3 separate regions of the Homo sapiens genome follow, and all the other regions are linked to region 3. Evidence: promoter capture Hi-C in 16 types of primary human blood cells and fetal thymus (Javierre and others, 2016). All regions are on one chromosome and are shown on one strand. Each heading gives the region's core, a stretch centred on a gene start or on the middle of the fragment in contact. The rest is flanking DNA. Distances are from core to core; before and after follow the strand shown.

Region 1 (4,361 bases), core at 478-2,977, 580 kb before region 3:
TCAAGCCATTCTCCTGCCTCAGCCTCCTGAGTAGCTGTGATTACAGGCAGGAGCCACCACGCTCAGCCTCAACAACACTTTTCTACAGAGCGATTGGTAGTTAAAACCATACTCGACTTAATATTGTCTAACATAGGCATGCATACCTCATTTAATGTGTCCCTTATATAGGTATCGAATTTTGCCTCACAGGAGGCCATATATTTCACTCATTTATTCTCCTTTTTAAAAAATAACTTTTATTTAAACTTTTTAATATGGACATTCTCAAAAATTCGCTAATGTAGAGAGTGCAGTGTAGTGAACCCCTACTCATCCATCACACAGCTTCAATAATACATTTCCACTTAAAACAGTTTTAAAGAGAAAAGTGTTTTACAGCCCATTCAAAACCCCAAGTTTTACTTATATACTCTTACATACCCATGTAACAACCCTCTAATATTTCTGACTACCAATTTACTACGTAAGATTCTTTTAAGGATTAAAAAAAACCCTATTATTCTATTCTGAGGGAACATTGTAAAAGCTCGTCAGAAGCAAAGATAGTATGCATTATAGATATGGACAGATAATGTCAAACTGAGGCCTTCTGTGCCTTCACATTCCCCAATATTTCTTTGAATATAAGAGCTTTGCTAGCTGGTTGTGGTGGCTCATGCCTGTGATCCTAGCATTTTGGGAGGCCGAGGTGGGAGGATCACTTGAGCCTTGGAGTTGGAGACGAACCTGGGCAACAGAGTGAGACCCCATCTCTAAAAAAAAATGTTTTTAAATTAACCAGGTGCATCCCTGTGCCAGGAGCCAACCTGGTCTTCCCGAGGGGTAGTGCCCCAGTGAAGACAAAAGCACGAGAATAAAGTTCCCTGTAGGTCCTCTGTCCAAAAAAAAAAAACCAGGCGTGGTATTGAGGTATTGAGCACCTGTAATCCAGCTACTCAGGAGGATCGCTTTAGCCCAGAAGCTCAAGTGAGCTATGATCACCACCACACTCCGGCCTGGGTGACAGAGCAAGACACCGTCTCAAAAAAAAGAAAAGAGGCCGGGTGCGGTGGTTCATGCCTGTAATCCCAGCACTTTGGGAGGCCGAGGCGGGTAGATCACGAGTCAAGAGATTGAGACCATCCCGGCCAACATGCTGAAAATATACTAAAAATATAAAAGTTAGCTGGGCATGGTGGCACGTGCCTATAGTTCCAGCTACTCGGGAGGCTGAGGCAGGAGAATCGCTTGAATTCGGGAGGCAGAGGTTGCAGTCAGCCGAGATCGCGCCAATGCACTCCAGCATGGCAACAGAGCGAGACTCCATCTCAAAAAAAAAAAAAAAAGAAAAAGTTTTTAGCTTCCTAGGCTCACATCTTTTCTCACAGACCTTTCTGTTTTCAGTTGATAGTATCGTGATAATTGTAAGACACAACATATTTAAGCAAGATGAGCACAAGATACCACTTTATAGAAAGAGCAGATAGGACCACAGCATACTCTAGCGATCCTCTGGCCCTTTTTGATGGTACACGTAAGTACATGGACTCATCATAGTAAGTTTCTGATTCGGAGAGGAAATTTTTGGTAAAAATATGTGCGAGTTGTTACAGCAAATATTTGGATGTTTGTCATTCAGACTGCAAGGTACGCTTGATTATGTACATTTTTTTCTTAACTGCTTGATGAACTCTATCCAAGTCATTTAATAATGTTGCTTCCCTTTTTACCTAATTACATAAATGTTTAAAGTCACGAGCATTAAGCTCTCCTCCAAGTAATGTTAGTTAAAAAGAAGTTCCTGAACTGAGGAGATTCTCCAAAGATGTGTAGTCATCACTTGGAAGGTCAAATTTAACAATCAAAGAAAATAACTCCAAAAACAGTAGCTTCCAAACAGACCATTACTATTGCAGTGGAGCATTTTGGGCTCAGTTGTATCTCCCTGCAAAATTTGTCTGTTGCAGCCCGAACCCTCAGCACCTTAGGATGTGGTTGTATTTGCAGATAGTCTTTACAGAAGTAATTAAGTTAAAAGGGGGTTGTTAGGGTAGGTCTCAATCCAATAGGACTGGTGTCCCTATAAAAGATCAATACCCAGACATGCATAAAAGGGAAGACGGCCATCCACAAGCCAAAGAGAGAGACCTCAGAAGAGGCCAACACTGCTGACACCTTGATCTGGGACTTCCAGCTGCCAGAGCTGTGAGAAAATAAATGTCTGTTGTTAAAGCCACCCAGTTTGTGGTATTTTGTGATGGCAGCCCTAGGAAGACAAACATAGTGAGTAATCAAGGTCATCTAATCTAAGCTACAGAAATGGCCCTTAATTACACCTGGGGGCTCTACATTTTATTTCATCTTATTTTTATTGTTTTTGAGACAGAGTATCACTCTGTCACCCAGGCTGGTATGCAGTGGCACAATCTTGGCTCACTGCAACCTTCGCCTCCCGGGTTCAGGCGATTCTCCTGCCTCAACCTCCTGAGTAGCTGGACTTACAGACGTATGCCTGGCTAATTTTTGTATTTTTAGTAGAGATGGGGTTTCGCCATGTTGGCCAGGCTGGTATCGAACTCTTGACCTCAAGTGGTCCGCCTGCCTTGGTCTCCCAAAGTGCTAGGATTACAGGCATGAGACACCACGCCTGGCCTGCAGGCTCTGAATTTATAAAGTGAGAAGAAAATCTGTCAAAAGAGCTGGCCAGGCACATGCAAGTCAACCTAATTCTTATTTACTTATTTAATAGAGATGGGAGTCTCACTGTTGCCCAGGCTGGTCTTGAACTCCTGAGCTCAAGCAATCCTCCCGCCTTGGCCTCCCAAAGTGCCGGGATTACAGCATGAGCCACCGTGCATGGCCAACCTAACACTTTTAAACAAATTCTGATGGCAATCAGATGACAGCTCAGGGCATGGGCTCTGACCAAATAAATCTTTATTTCAATTTCTCAATTACATGGTCGGGCTTTATCTGTCCTCCAAACTGTTAGAGAGCAAGACTGATAACATCTAACCTTTCAGATATGCAAGAATGTAGGAGATGAGACATGTCGAATTGTCAAGGCATAAACATGAGATAACTTTGAGAATTTATGAAAATTTAAAAAATGTTTTTAAAAATCAACAAACAAATAATTTGGAAAATAGTAAGCCACATCAGGAAAGAAATTTTGTGGGTACACAGTAACACCAAGGATTTTGTGGTCGCAATGGGCTTTCAGTTACATAAAAGAGCACGAAATTAACAATATTTACCAATATTCTCTTCAAAGTGCTCTTCACACACCAAATAATTACCCAATTAAGCCACTGCAAGATAAGTTGCTATTACTCTGGATTTAGTAAAAAGAACTAATAATTACTCTTTTAACAGTTTCTGTGAAGAAAGAACTCAGTGTTTACCATACACAAGTGAGCACATCCCACCCGTTTAATAAGTAGGGAACAGGAAAAAAAAAAAGGCTGATTATGTAAGTGAATTCAGTGGAGGACACAGATGACTAAGAACCACAACCTGTGAAAACAGAGAATTTAATATGTAAAGCAGAGACCACCATTGGCAAAAGGCTATTTATGAATACTGCCAATACTTAGCATTGCCAGCTGACAATAGAAGATCTTCGGTCATGCCCCGAACAACATAATTCATCACACTAGTGCTTGGGCCAGTCACGTCCAAGCAATTTATCATCATCATATCACTCGCCTGACTATAATAAGGGGAGAACTTTGATTGTTAACCTCTAGGGAGACTGGATTTATAGCCAGTGTCCCCTAAGAATGCAGCACAGCTCTGTCCAAAGCACAATGCTCCCGGCTTGCCTTCTGTTTAACTCAGAATAAAAGAGTGAACACACTGCCCCTAGGACATTAACAGCAAAACCTAAGTCTGATACTCTTAGATCCGAAATCAGATAGCCAGGAAATCATATTTAAAATACTCTTTGAAGCTGCCTGAAAAAAAACGTATTAGTCAATGGTAAGTACGGATGATTCATTTCAAATGTCCTTCAGTGACAAAATAATTTCTGAAATGTATCCACTGATAACTGCATTTGGGAAGAATCATCTTTTCACAACTCACCCACGAACATTCCTCTGTATTGGAAAACTTGGAAGTGCACTGAAAATTGTTAAAAATATATAAATTGTGTTTTTCAAAGTAAAAATGAAAGCCTTGATTCTTATCCCTTCCAGGCATACAGCCTTTACCTATTTTACACTTTAACATGGTCTGCCCTTACAGAATGCAATTAAACATCTAAACGCCATTTTTGCCACTCTTGATTAAAATCACAAAGCAGACTGGAGCATGATGGGAACAGCACACCTGCCATCTCCCACACAGTAAAAGGAGCATGATTCATAGGACAAGCC
Region 2 (4,432 bases), core at 576-3,075, 870 kb before region 3:
GAGGGCGGAAGTCTGAGATCTTTTTCACTGAATTAGACTCCACATGTCACCCAAGTCACTTCCTTCAGGAGGCTCTAGAGGAGAATGGCTCCTTGCCTTTCTCAGCTTCTAGTGAGTGCCTGCATTCCTTGGCTTACAGCCCCTTCCTTCATCCTCAGAACCTACCACATCATTCTCTGCTACCGTCATCACATTGCATTCTCCTCTCACTCTGATTCTTCTCCCATCCCTCTTATAAGCACCACTGCAATTATATCAGGCCCACCCAGATAACCTCCCCAACTCAAGATCCTTCACTTATCCACTTCGACAAAGTCCCTTTTGCCTCATGAGCTGATATGCGCAGGTTCCAGGGATTGGGACAGAAATATATTTGGGGAGCCATCACCCCGCCTCCCACACATAGTAACACACCTATGAACCTCATAGTTCCGTTGCGTTTGTGAAAGTGGTTTCTTTCCCCTGCTTCATGATGGGCCTATGTGTCATCTTCTGGATGAGCTGGCTGGTCTGCAGGGTTCTGCCTCACTTCCTGATCCTGATTCCACTGGGATTTGGGTCTGGGTATGATGAAGGGTGTAGGTGTATATGTGACTGATTTTTATTCTTCATATTGGGGAGAAATGAAGTTTATTTTGCTCTCCTCCCTCATTCTATATATTGATATTATGATTAATAGCTTTTGACACCAAACTATTTTGAAATATGAGTCTTTTATGACGTATTTTGACAGCAGCAATGGCATGCTTTTCGCTGTTGTAACAGGAGTAAATGACAGGGGCCACTCGCTCATTATTTTATACCCAAGTAATCAACCAAAGATGTCATGTCCAGAAATAACACTAAAATGTCAACCACCCAAATCTCTTGCAAATAGTCTCATTCAGAGGGTTGGAATCTGCCTTACTGGCAGTTTTGAAAGATACAATTTGTTGAAGACAGGGAGCCCTAAGTGATTTCTTTCTCTCTCCGAGATGCCAGATGGGTGTTGAATGAAGTCCAGTTTTTAGTTTTTCTGTAGATAATTTTTTTAAGTTTGTGGTGGTGTTTCGGATCTTCATCCGTGTGTTCTCCCTCCTCTAGCCCCCCACGGCTACCCACAGCCTGGCAGCGGTATGGTTGCCTTGGTACCTGTTCCTGAAGGCTGTCTGCAATGAAATTTGGTTGTCTAAATAGCACGACTTGTCATCTAAAAGTAGAAGTCATTAGCACGATGCCGTTTGGCTAGTGGTATCTTGAATGCTGTTTTAAAAATTTTCTTATTTTATCACTTTACTGTTACTGTTTACTCATGTCATCACTGGAGATTTCAGGGCCTGCTTCACACTATGGATCCGGAGTGAAAAATACGAAATGTTCTCCCTAAGAGTTTCCCAGAACTTGCGCCAAAAACAGTGGCCCGAGTTGGACATTTTGTATATTTTTAGAGACACAGATTTTGAAATTCCAGCCGTTGTTACCTCGCGTGATCAGTAATACTTGCATATTGGTAGCGGCAATCCATGATTGAACAGCCTTCTGCTGTTTCTGAGGGAAATGAAATTTCTGCCAGCTTCTGTTTGAACTTTAATTGGCCTTCACTGTGGTCGTGAATTTGCCAGAAACACGTATTTATCTCAGAAAAGGTAGCATGTTTTTTAAGTTTGATATAAAAGTTGAATTGGGTGCTTTGGGAGGATTTGTGTCCATTTGCCTCCAATCAAGTTATCTCCTCTGTGAAATTATAACAAAAGATGCAGCCAGGCGGAACATCGTCACTCTTTCCGCCCAGGTGAGTCCACTCTGAAGTCAATGACTCCTGTCACTATAGGTAAGATGGGAGGCCACATCCTGTTCCCTTGTGGTAGGCATCTTGGCAAAAACCACCAACTGGCAGCCTGTGTTGTGAGGAATGCACATTAATTAGTTCCTTGAAACTCTTCCCTCATTAACTTCAGGTAAGTTGTTAAAGCAAATGTTCTGGAGTTCAGAGTGTTGCTTTTGATAATGAGAAAACAAGTTTAGTCATCAGAATCTGTCATCTTGTTTATAAAACAGTCAAACCATATGCAACGCCCTTCTGCATGGTGGATTTTGTTTTGTTCCTTGAACCTACTGGCTCGCTTCATCCAATGCCTACAGATAGTAAATAAAGAGGTCCATTTTTTTAGGTACATTAAATACTACAAATTTTGGGAGGGGAGGTAGAGTAGGAGGGTGGTGGGCAGAAGGCAGCCGGGCCATTTTTTTGGCAACTAATTCAATATGAGAAAAAAGATGGTATTGCTCTCATAAAAGTAATTTATATTCATTGTTTTCAACCAACTGAAACATTCAGAAAGCTAAAAACATTTCAGTCAAATTCCCACCACCTTGAAATAATCAGAAGTATGTTTTGGTGACCATCATTCAAGATACGTTCTTGGCCGGGCGCAGTGGCTCACGCCTGTAATCCCAGCACTTTGGGAGGCCGAGATGGGTGGATCACGAGGTCAAGATATCGGGACCATCCTGGCCAACTTGGTAAAACCCCGTCTCTACTAAAAACACAAAAATTAGCTGGGCGTGGTGGTGGGCACCTGTAATCCAGCTAGTCAGGAGGCTGAGGTAGGAGAATCACTTGAACCTGGGAGGCTGAGGTTGTAGTGAGCCGAGATTGCGCCACTGCACTCTAACCTGGTGACAGAGCAAGACTCTGTCTCAAAAAAAAAAAAAAAAAAAGATACGTTCCTAAGATAGACAGAAAGGTAGGTCAAGAAGCAGGTAACTATATTGACAAATGAAGAAGCATAATATTTTTAAATGTAAATTTGAATCTAAGAAAGGAAAATCAGATGAAGTAATTTCTGAACTTTTACTATGTGAGTCCAAGAATATTAAGCTATTACTTCCTAAAATATTACTGTAAAGTAAAAATAACAATTATTGACAATATTGAGAAGTTTTATATGTATATACACATATATACGTGCATATGTATCTACATTCTATGTATGTTTTATACATATATAACTGTATTTTAAACTGTAATTTTCAAAATAGTTTTGATAGCTTTTTGATTTGTTGCTTATTTGGCTAGATTTAATTGCCAAGAATTTTATTTTTGTTTATTTCAAATATGGTTTATGTTACATATCCTTTGTTCCTGCATACTAGATGCCTTAGTCCATTTTGTGCTGGTTTCACAAAATACTTGAGACTGGGTAATTTATAAATAATAGAACTTTATTTCTTACCATTCTGGGGGCTGGGAAGCCTGAGATCAAGGAGCGGACAGATTCAGTTTTCTGGCGAGGGCTGCATTCCATCTGGTGACACTGCATCCTCTGGAGAAGAGAAATGCTGTGTCCTCCCATGACAGAAGGCAGAAGGGCAAGAGGAATGAACTTCCCTTCTTAAGCCCTGTTATAAGCGCACCGAATACCTTTCACAGGGGTTTAGGTGTGCTTGTAAACATCATGACTTAATCACCTCCTGAAGGCCCCCCGCTCAAGATGCTTTCGTTGATAATTAAGTTTGAACTTGAATTGTAGAGGGAACAGAAGCATTCAGAACCTAACACTTCAGAGTATCTGTTCCTTTCTCATTTAATAGATAATTCGTCTAGGTATAAAAATCTCGAGTCACCTTTTCTTTTACTGGAATCTTGTAGATACTGTCTTTGGGCATTGAATTTCCTTAATGTGATACTGGGGGCTAACTTGAGTTGCCCACTTAATGATGACTTGCTTTCTCTGCTAGGATGTACATAGGATTATTTATTTTTATTTATTCATATTCTCTCTCTCTTCTCCCATCTCTACTATATTTATTAAAGCATCGTACATGTACACAAAAGCGCATATAACATAAGCTTATAGTTCAGCGAATGATCAACATGCCAAAACTCACGACAACTATTCAGGTGAAGAAATAGAACACCACTGGAGTTTCAGAGTTTCCTCTGATCTCCTTTCAGTCATTAGGCAGGCCTTCCTCTCTGCTCAAAGGTAGCTACTTCTTCAGCTTCTAATATCATTGACTTTTGCTGTTTTGGGATTCTACATGAACGGAACCATTCAGTATGCTTTCTGGCTTCTTTCACTCAACATTGCTTCTTGAGATTGATCCCGATTGTTGCATAGAGCAGTATTTCATTCATTTTCCTTGCTCCCATGATATGTGAATTATCTGTGTGTCAGCCCTAGTTCTCGTTTGAGCTACTTACTGGCTTAAGCAACAGCCTTGTCACTTTTGAGTCATTCCCCACTTTGGGACTGGCAGTGAAATAGAGGCTGTCAGTGGGTTGATGAGTGAGCACTATGTCCCCTCCCTCGTTCCTGTCACCTCCTTCTCGGACAGTAAAGTCACTGTTCGTGATTCCCCCTTCTGCTCCTCTTCTGCCACGTGCTGTTAGCAGGGTTTCTCTGGGGATACCCACTGCTGCCCCTTTTCTTTTAGTATGTTCTCACTC
Region 3 (4,317 bases), core at 397-2,896:
TAAATTTATATCCCAAGAGAAAAGCAAATAACTCTTTGCAAATACAATGATGATAGGAATTGTCATAAGCAAGTTACACATAAGGTACTATGAAGCCTCAGAAATTATAATTATTACTTTCAATTGTAATGACTGGAGAAAGTTTGGCATGCACACTCTGACATGAAGGATAGGTAAGATTTGATTTGCAAAAACAAGGCAAGGGATATTCTAAAGGGAATAAAGATCAAAAGGAATGCTATGGCTCTACTACAGGCACTTTGGGCAAGTCCCTGTAATTACAGTAAAGGGTACTGAAGAAATAAAATTAAATTAATTAAAATAAAATTAGAAATAACGTATAAATAGGAAAAAATAGCTAGTAATAAAGCATAAATTAACAAAACCTTATTTGCAATCTAAAAGATTTTAAATTAAGGGTTAATTTTAATTAGCCAAATGCAAGGGTATTCTACAATGAAACTGCATGTTTTTGAAATTAGAGAACATAACGTATTATACTAAAATACAACTGGCTAGAATTTATGGGTAAAAAAGTCAGAACTACTGTTGCATCAAATTCCCACAAAATGGCTTCTTGAGGTAAAAAAAATACCCACTGTTGCATAAATGCCTTCCATGTGCTAGGAAGTACACCAAATCCTTTGTATGTGTTACTTTTTCCATTTATTCCTTACAATATATGAAATGTATGCAATCTCCCTTTTAGAAAGAAAAAAGCCTAGGTAGATAGTAGGTAACTTGCTAGTAAGTGCAAAAGGTAGGAATATGGGCCAGTATGACCCACAGCTTGGCCTCTTAACTATTGCATTACTGCATCCCAAAGTAATATGGTTTCCAAGGAGTACAGAAACCTTACAGAACCAAAATAAAAGCATGTATTTTTTTTTAAATCAGATTTTGCCCTTTCGTTTTAAATTCAAAGCTCGGGCAATACAAGCCCTCTTTTTTTAAGCAGCACAAACATAAGTTTTCACATGAACTCAATTTAACTGCTAGTTAATGAGTAAAACCTAAACTTTAGTCCAGGTGTTGCCCACACACTCTGCAGTGTCAAAAACTGGAGATGAAAATGCTGTAACATTTACAAACAGGTTGCTCTGAATTTGTTTCCCTACAAATACCTTGTAATTCTGCGTTGCAGCTGGTGGAAGCATTTCTAATGCACATTATGCCACATTCTTTGCCATGTTTTTAGGTAATAGTTGGTCTGACTTTGATTTATTGAAGTACAGAGGCGGACAGCCTCCAGCTTATGAGAAGCGCCCTACAAAGGCACGGATGTTACCGCACTGTGACTCAACTATTGCCTTATAGTTCTAGTTTTGCAAAATTAATATTGAAAAATACAAGCAATGGGCATATGTTCTAATTCCTAGTGCCTGGGCCTCAGAGCCTCCAGCTTAGCCCAGAGCAGTGCGTAGAGGAAGAAGGTATTCCTGGAGTTTAGAAACACGCCGACGCCCCTTCCCAATACAAAAACTACCACCCCACCAAAGGGTCCCAGACAGTTCAGAAAGGTCAGAAGCTACTTCCACCGCTTTCCGTGCCTGTTTCCGCCTCCAATTTCACTTCCGGGGAGGGGACTTCCGGGCCCTCAGCCTTAAGGGGCGGGAGTTAAAGAGGAGTCGGAAGTGGCACCAGCACTTCCGGTACGGAAAACTCGCTGCTGCCCCAACCTGGCTTGACAGGCTTGGTCTCTGCAAGTGGCTCTCAGCCCCTTCTTCTTTCCTGCCTCACCTTCCAATTCGTTTGCCGCCGCCGTCCCGCAGCTGCTGTTTCCGGAGTTGCCCCTTCCCCATGTTCCGGGGCAGGAGTCCGCAAAGCGAAGATCCGCCCGCCGGTTCCTCATCATGTCCGAACTGACTAAAGAGCTGATGGAGCTGGTGTGGGGCACCAAGAGCAGCCCCGGTCTCTCGGACACCATTTTCTGCCGCTGGACGCAAGGTACCCTGGCGGGGCTCTCACACTTGCAGCCGCTGCTTCTTTTGCCCTGCGAGAGTCCGCCTGTGACGCCTCTCGCTCCAGCCCCTCGCGTGCCCCGCTCTCTGCCCCAGTCGCCGTGCTCAGCGCTGAAGCTGGACTTTCTAGACACGCCCTGCCTTGCCTTGGTGGGGAGAGTTTGAGTAGGAGAATGGTTACAGCTGCCACTAAATACCCGCAGCGCTCTTTCCATCCTCCGGGCTGCCCTTCGGCTGGGGAGGAGGAGAGGGTGGCCCCTTGCTGGGTTGCAGGGCGTGACACGGAAGATGCGCCCCGTGCCCCGGTGTCACTTTCTCAAGGGGTGCTGTGGCCTTCCGCATCTTTACCCCCTAACAGAGCTGTCTATTGGTGGTGGTTGGTCTATTTTTGGTGAGAAGGAGGGACGTCCAAGGGAAAGTCCAAGTGGCTAATTCCAAAAAGCAGTTTTTTGTTTGTATTGTCATTATGTGGTTAGGCGTGGTAGTCTGTGTATAAACACTGTTATTTGCTAAAAAGTGTACTCTTGGCCCAAAGTATCCCCGTTTTTTATATGGTTTATTATCTGTCACGGTTAAAAAAGGAATATGGATCATAGTACTTCCTCGGCCGGTATGCTTGTAACCCAGACAGGACTTTTACTTACATGAAGAGTCTTAGTACAAATAATAATGAAATAAAATAAGCATTTATTGAATTCTTGCACTGTAACAGGCTGGGCGCTTTATACTAGTAACTATCCCTAATTCTTAAGTTTGGATAGGCAAACAACTGACACATTCCTAAAGGTGACTTAGGAAAGATGATGATGAGGTTAAAACATAACCTTGAGTCAGAAGGATCAATAATTTATGTATGTAAAACACTATTATTATTAAAACATCTATTTAGGGAACACCTGTTCCCGAAATAGATTGGGCGGAATTTTGGCATAGTAAATATAAACCCCTATTTCAAAACGTGTATTTTGTAACAAAAATTCAGGATTTACGTAATCTCTCCCTCCCTCCCACATGTTTGTTTTAAGAGCTGGTAAAATTACAATTACGATGTATTGTTAAGTTGGGATATTTAGTCCCTCACTGTTGCTTTGCAGGCGAAAAAAATTAGTTGTAAAGGTAAATGACTGGGCCAAAGTTGCACAAATCGATAGAACTGGGAGTGGATTCCAGGTCTCTCGATTCCTAATATACCTCTGTTTTCATTATCTTCCTTTGAGTTCCCAAACCCTACATGTAATGACTTGGGCTCTTTTTTTTCACATTCAATTATGTCAGTTACCTAATCTTGGGCTTCTTAGAGGGAGATTTTATTTTAACACTTCCCACTTTGACTTACTTATTCTAATAGTAAGCAGCTCTAAAATACTGTGAAAGACTAAGAAAAAATTTACTTCCATTGTAATCAGTTAACATTTATTAAACATTTTACAAAGTAGAATAAGATAATATTCAGCCCTGTTTATATTTATACTGTAATGCAAATACAAGGAAGATTCAGGGTGGCAGTTCTAGTAATGGTTAAGAGCACAGTCTGGAATAGATGTACTTGGTTCAGGTTCATGTGATTTAGCTTATTTAAGCCTCAGTTTCCTTCTCTGTAAAGTACAGATAATAGACCTTACAGAGTTATTGTGAGGATTAGAGGCCATGTAAATAATTTAGGTGCTTAGCACACTATCTGACGTATAGTGAACACTCAGTATATGGTAGCTGTTTTTATATTATTTTAAAAAGTGTTTAATTGTAGACTATGCCAAATTCACTCTTTGGCTTTTTCCTGACAATTACAATAAGTTGTTTATTTGATGGCTAATCATTATTCTAAATAGAACTTTATAATGACTTATTAGAACGCTCTGCCACCTTTAATCATGCAGAAATTCTTTAACAGGATTAGTTCCATCAGTACCATTTCAAAATAAAGGATTTCTTTCTTTTTTTCGTTTACAGGGTGCAGTTAGTTATATTTTGGATATGTAGCTCTTCAAGGCCTTACACTGATTAAGATTTTAAGGCAACCAAACATATATTTTTGAAGTTATCGCCTCTGAATCAGAGGGGTCCTGTTACTGGTTTTGATATGTTAACTGTTGTATTCATTTGTTTGTTCTTTGAGGCCATTGCTAAATATTGCTGTGGCAGTCCTTTGGGATTGTGGGAACAGGCACAAGACACTGCTTTGCTGCATTACTAATGTGACATCAACTCTGGCTTTATTTCATAGTCTGTGATCGTGTCTTCAGTTGACAACTGCAGTCTCATTAGTTTTCTGGAAGCAAGATACAGATGTAAGATGTTTGGCATGAATATTTATACAATTATGTCTAGAGATATTTCATCTATAAAATTATATTGA

Evidence for each region. The method cuts DNA at HindIII sites, captures the fragments that hold promoters and counts their contacts. A CHiCAGO score of 5 or more calls a contact.
Region 1: a contact is called between a fragment that was not itself captured here and the fragment with the promoter of MINDY3 in region 3, in 1 of 17 cell types (M0 macrophages). The highest score is 6.6, in M0 macrophages.
Region 2: a fragment that was not itself captured here is called in contact with the fragment with the promoter of MINDY3 in region 3 in 7 of 17 cell types (M2 macrophages, M1 macrophages, activated CD4 T cells and 4 more); the score reaches 8.2 in M2 macrophages.

Annotation. Positions count from the first base shown.
Region 1 is chr10:16,440,972-16,445,332 of GRCh38, reverse strand. All of the region lies in intron 1 of PTER (phosphotriesterase related), which reads right to left. Among named protein-coding and RNA genes, the nearest start is that of PTER, 6.1 kb to the right of the region's middle. The HindIII fragment of the contact is 8,086 bases long and covers 1-4,361 here.
Region 2 is chr10:16,724,536-16,728,967 of GRCh38, reverse strand. All of the region lies in intron 7 of RSU1 (Ras suppressor protein 1), which reads left to right. LOC124902384 (a long non-coding RNA gene) reads left to right here. Exons shown (of 2, transcript XR_007062072.1): 2 at 1-4,432. Among named protein-coding and RNA genes, the nearest start is that of RSU1, 91 kb to the left of the region's middle. The HindIII fragment of the contact is 4,019 bases long and covers 1-3,834 here.
Region 3 is chr10:15,857,836-15,862,152 of GRCh38, reverse strand. It overlaps MINDY3 (MINDY lysine 48 deubiquitinase 3), which reads left to right and starts at 1,646. Exons shown (of 15, transcript NM_024948.4): 1 at 1,646-1,947. The coding sequence starts at 1,854. LOC124902383 (a long non-coding RNA gene) reads right to left here. Exons shown (of 4, transcript XR_007062071.1): 4 at 3,353-4,230. RefSeq lists an enhancer at 1,855-1,904. The HindIII fragment of the contact is 10,196 bases long and covers 1-4,317 here.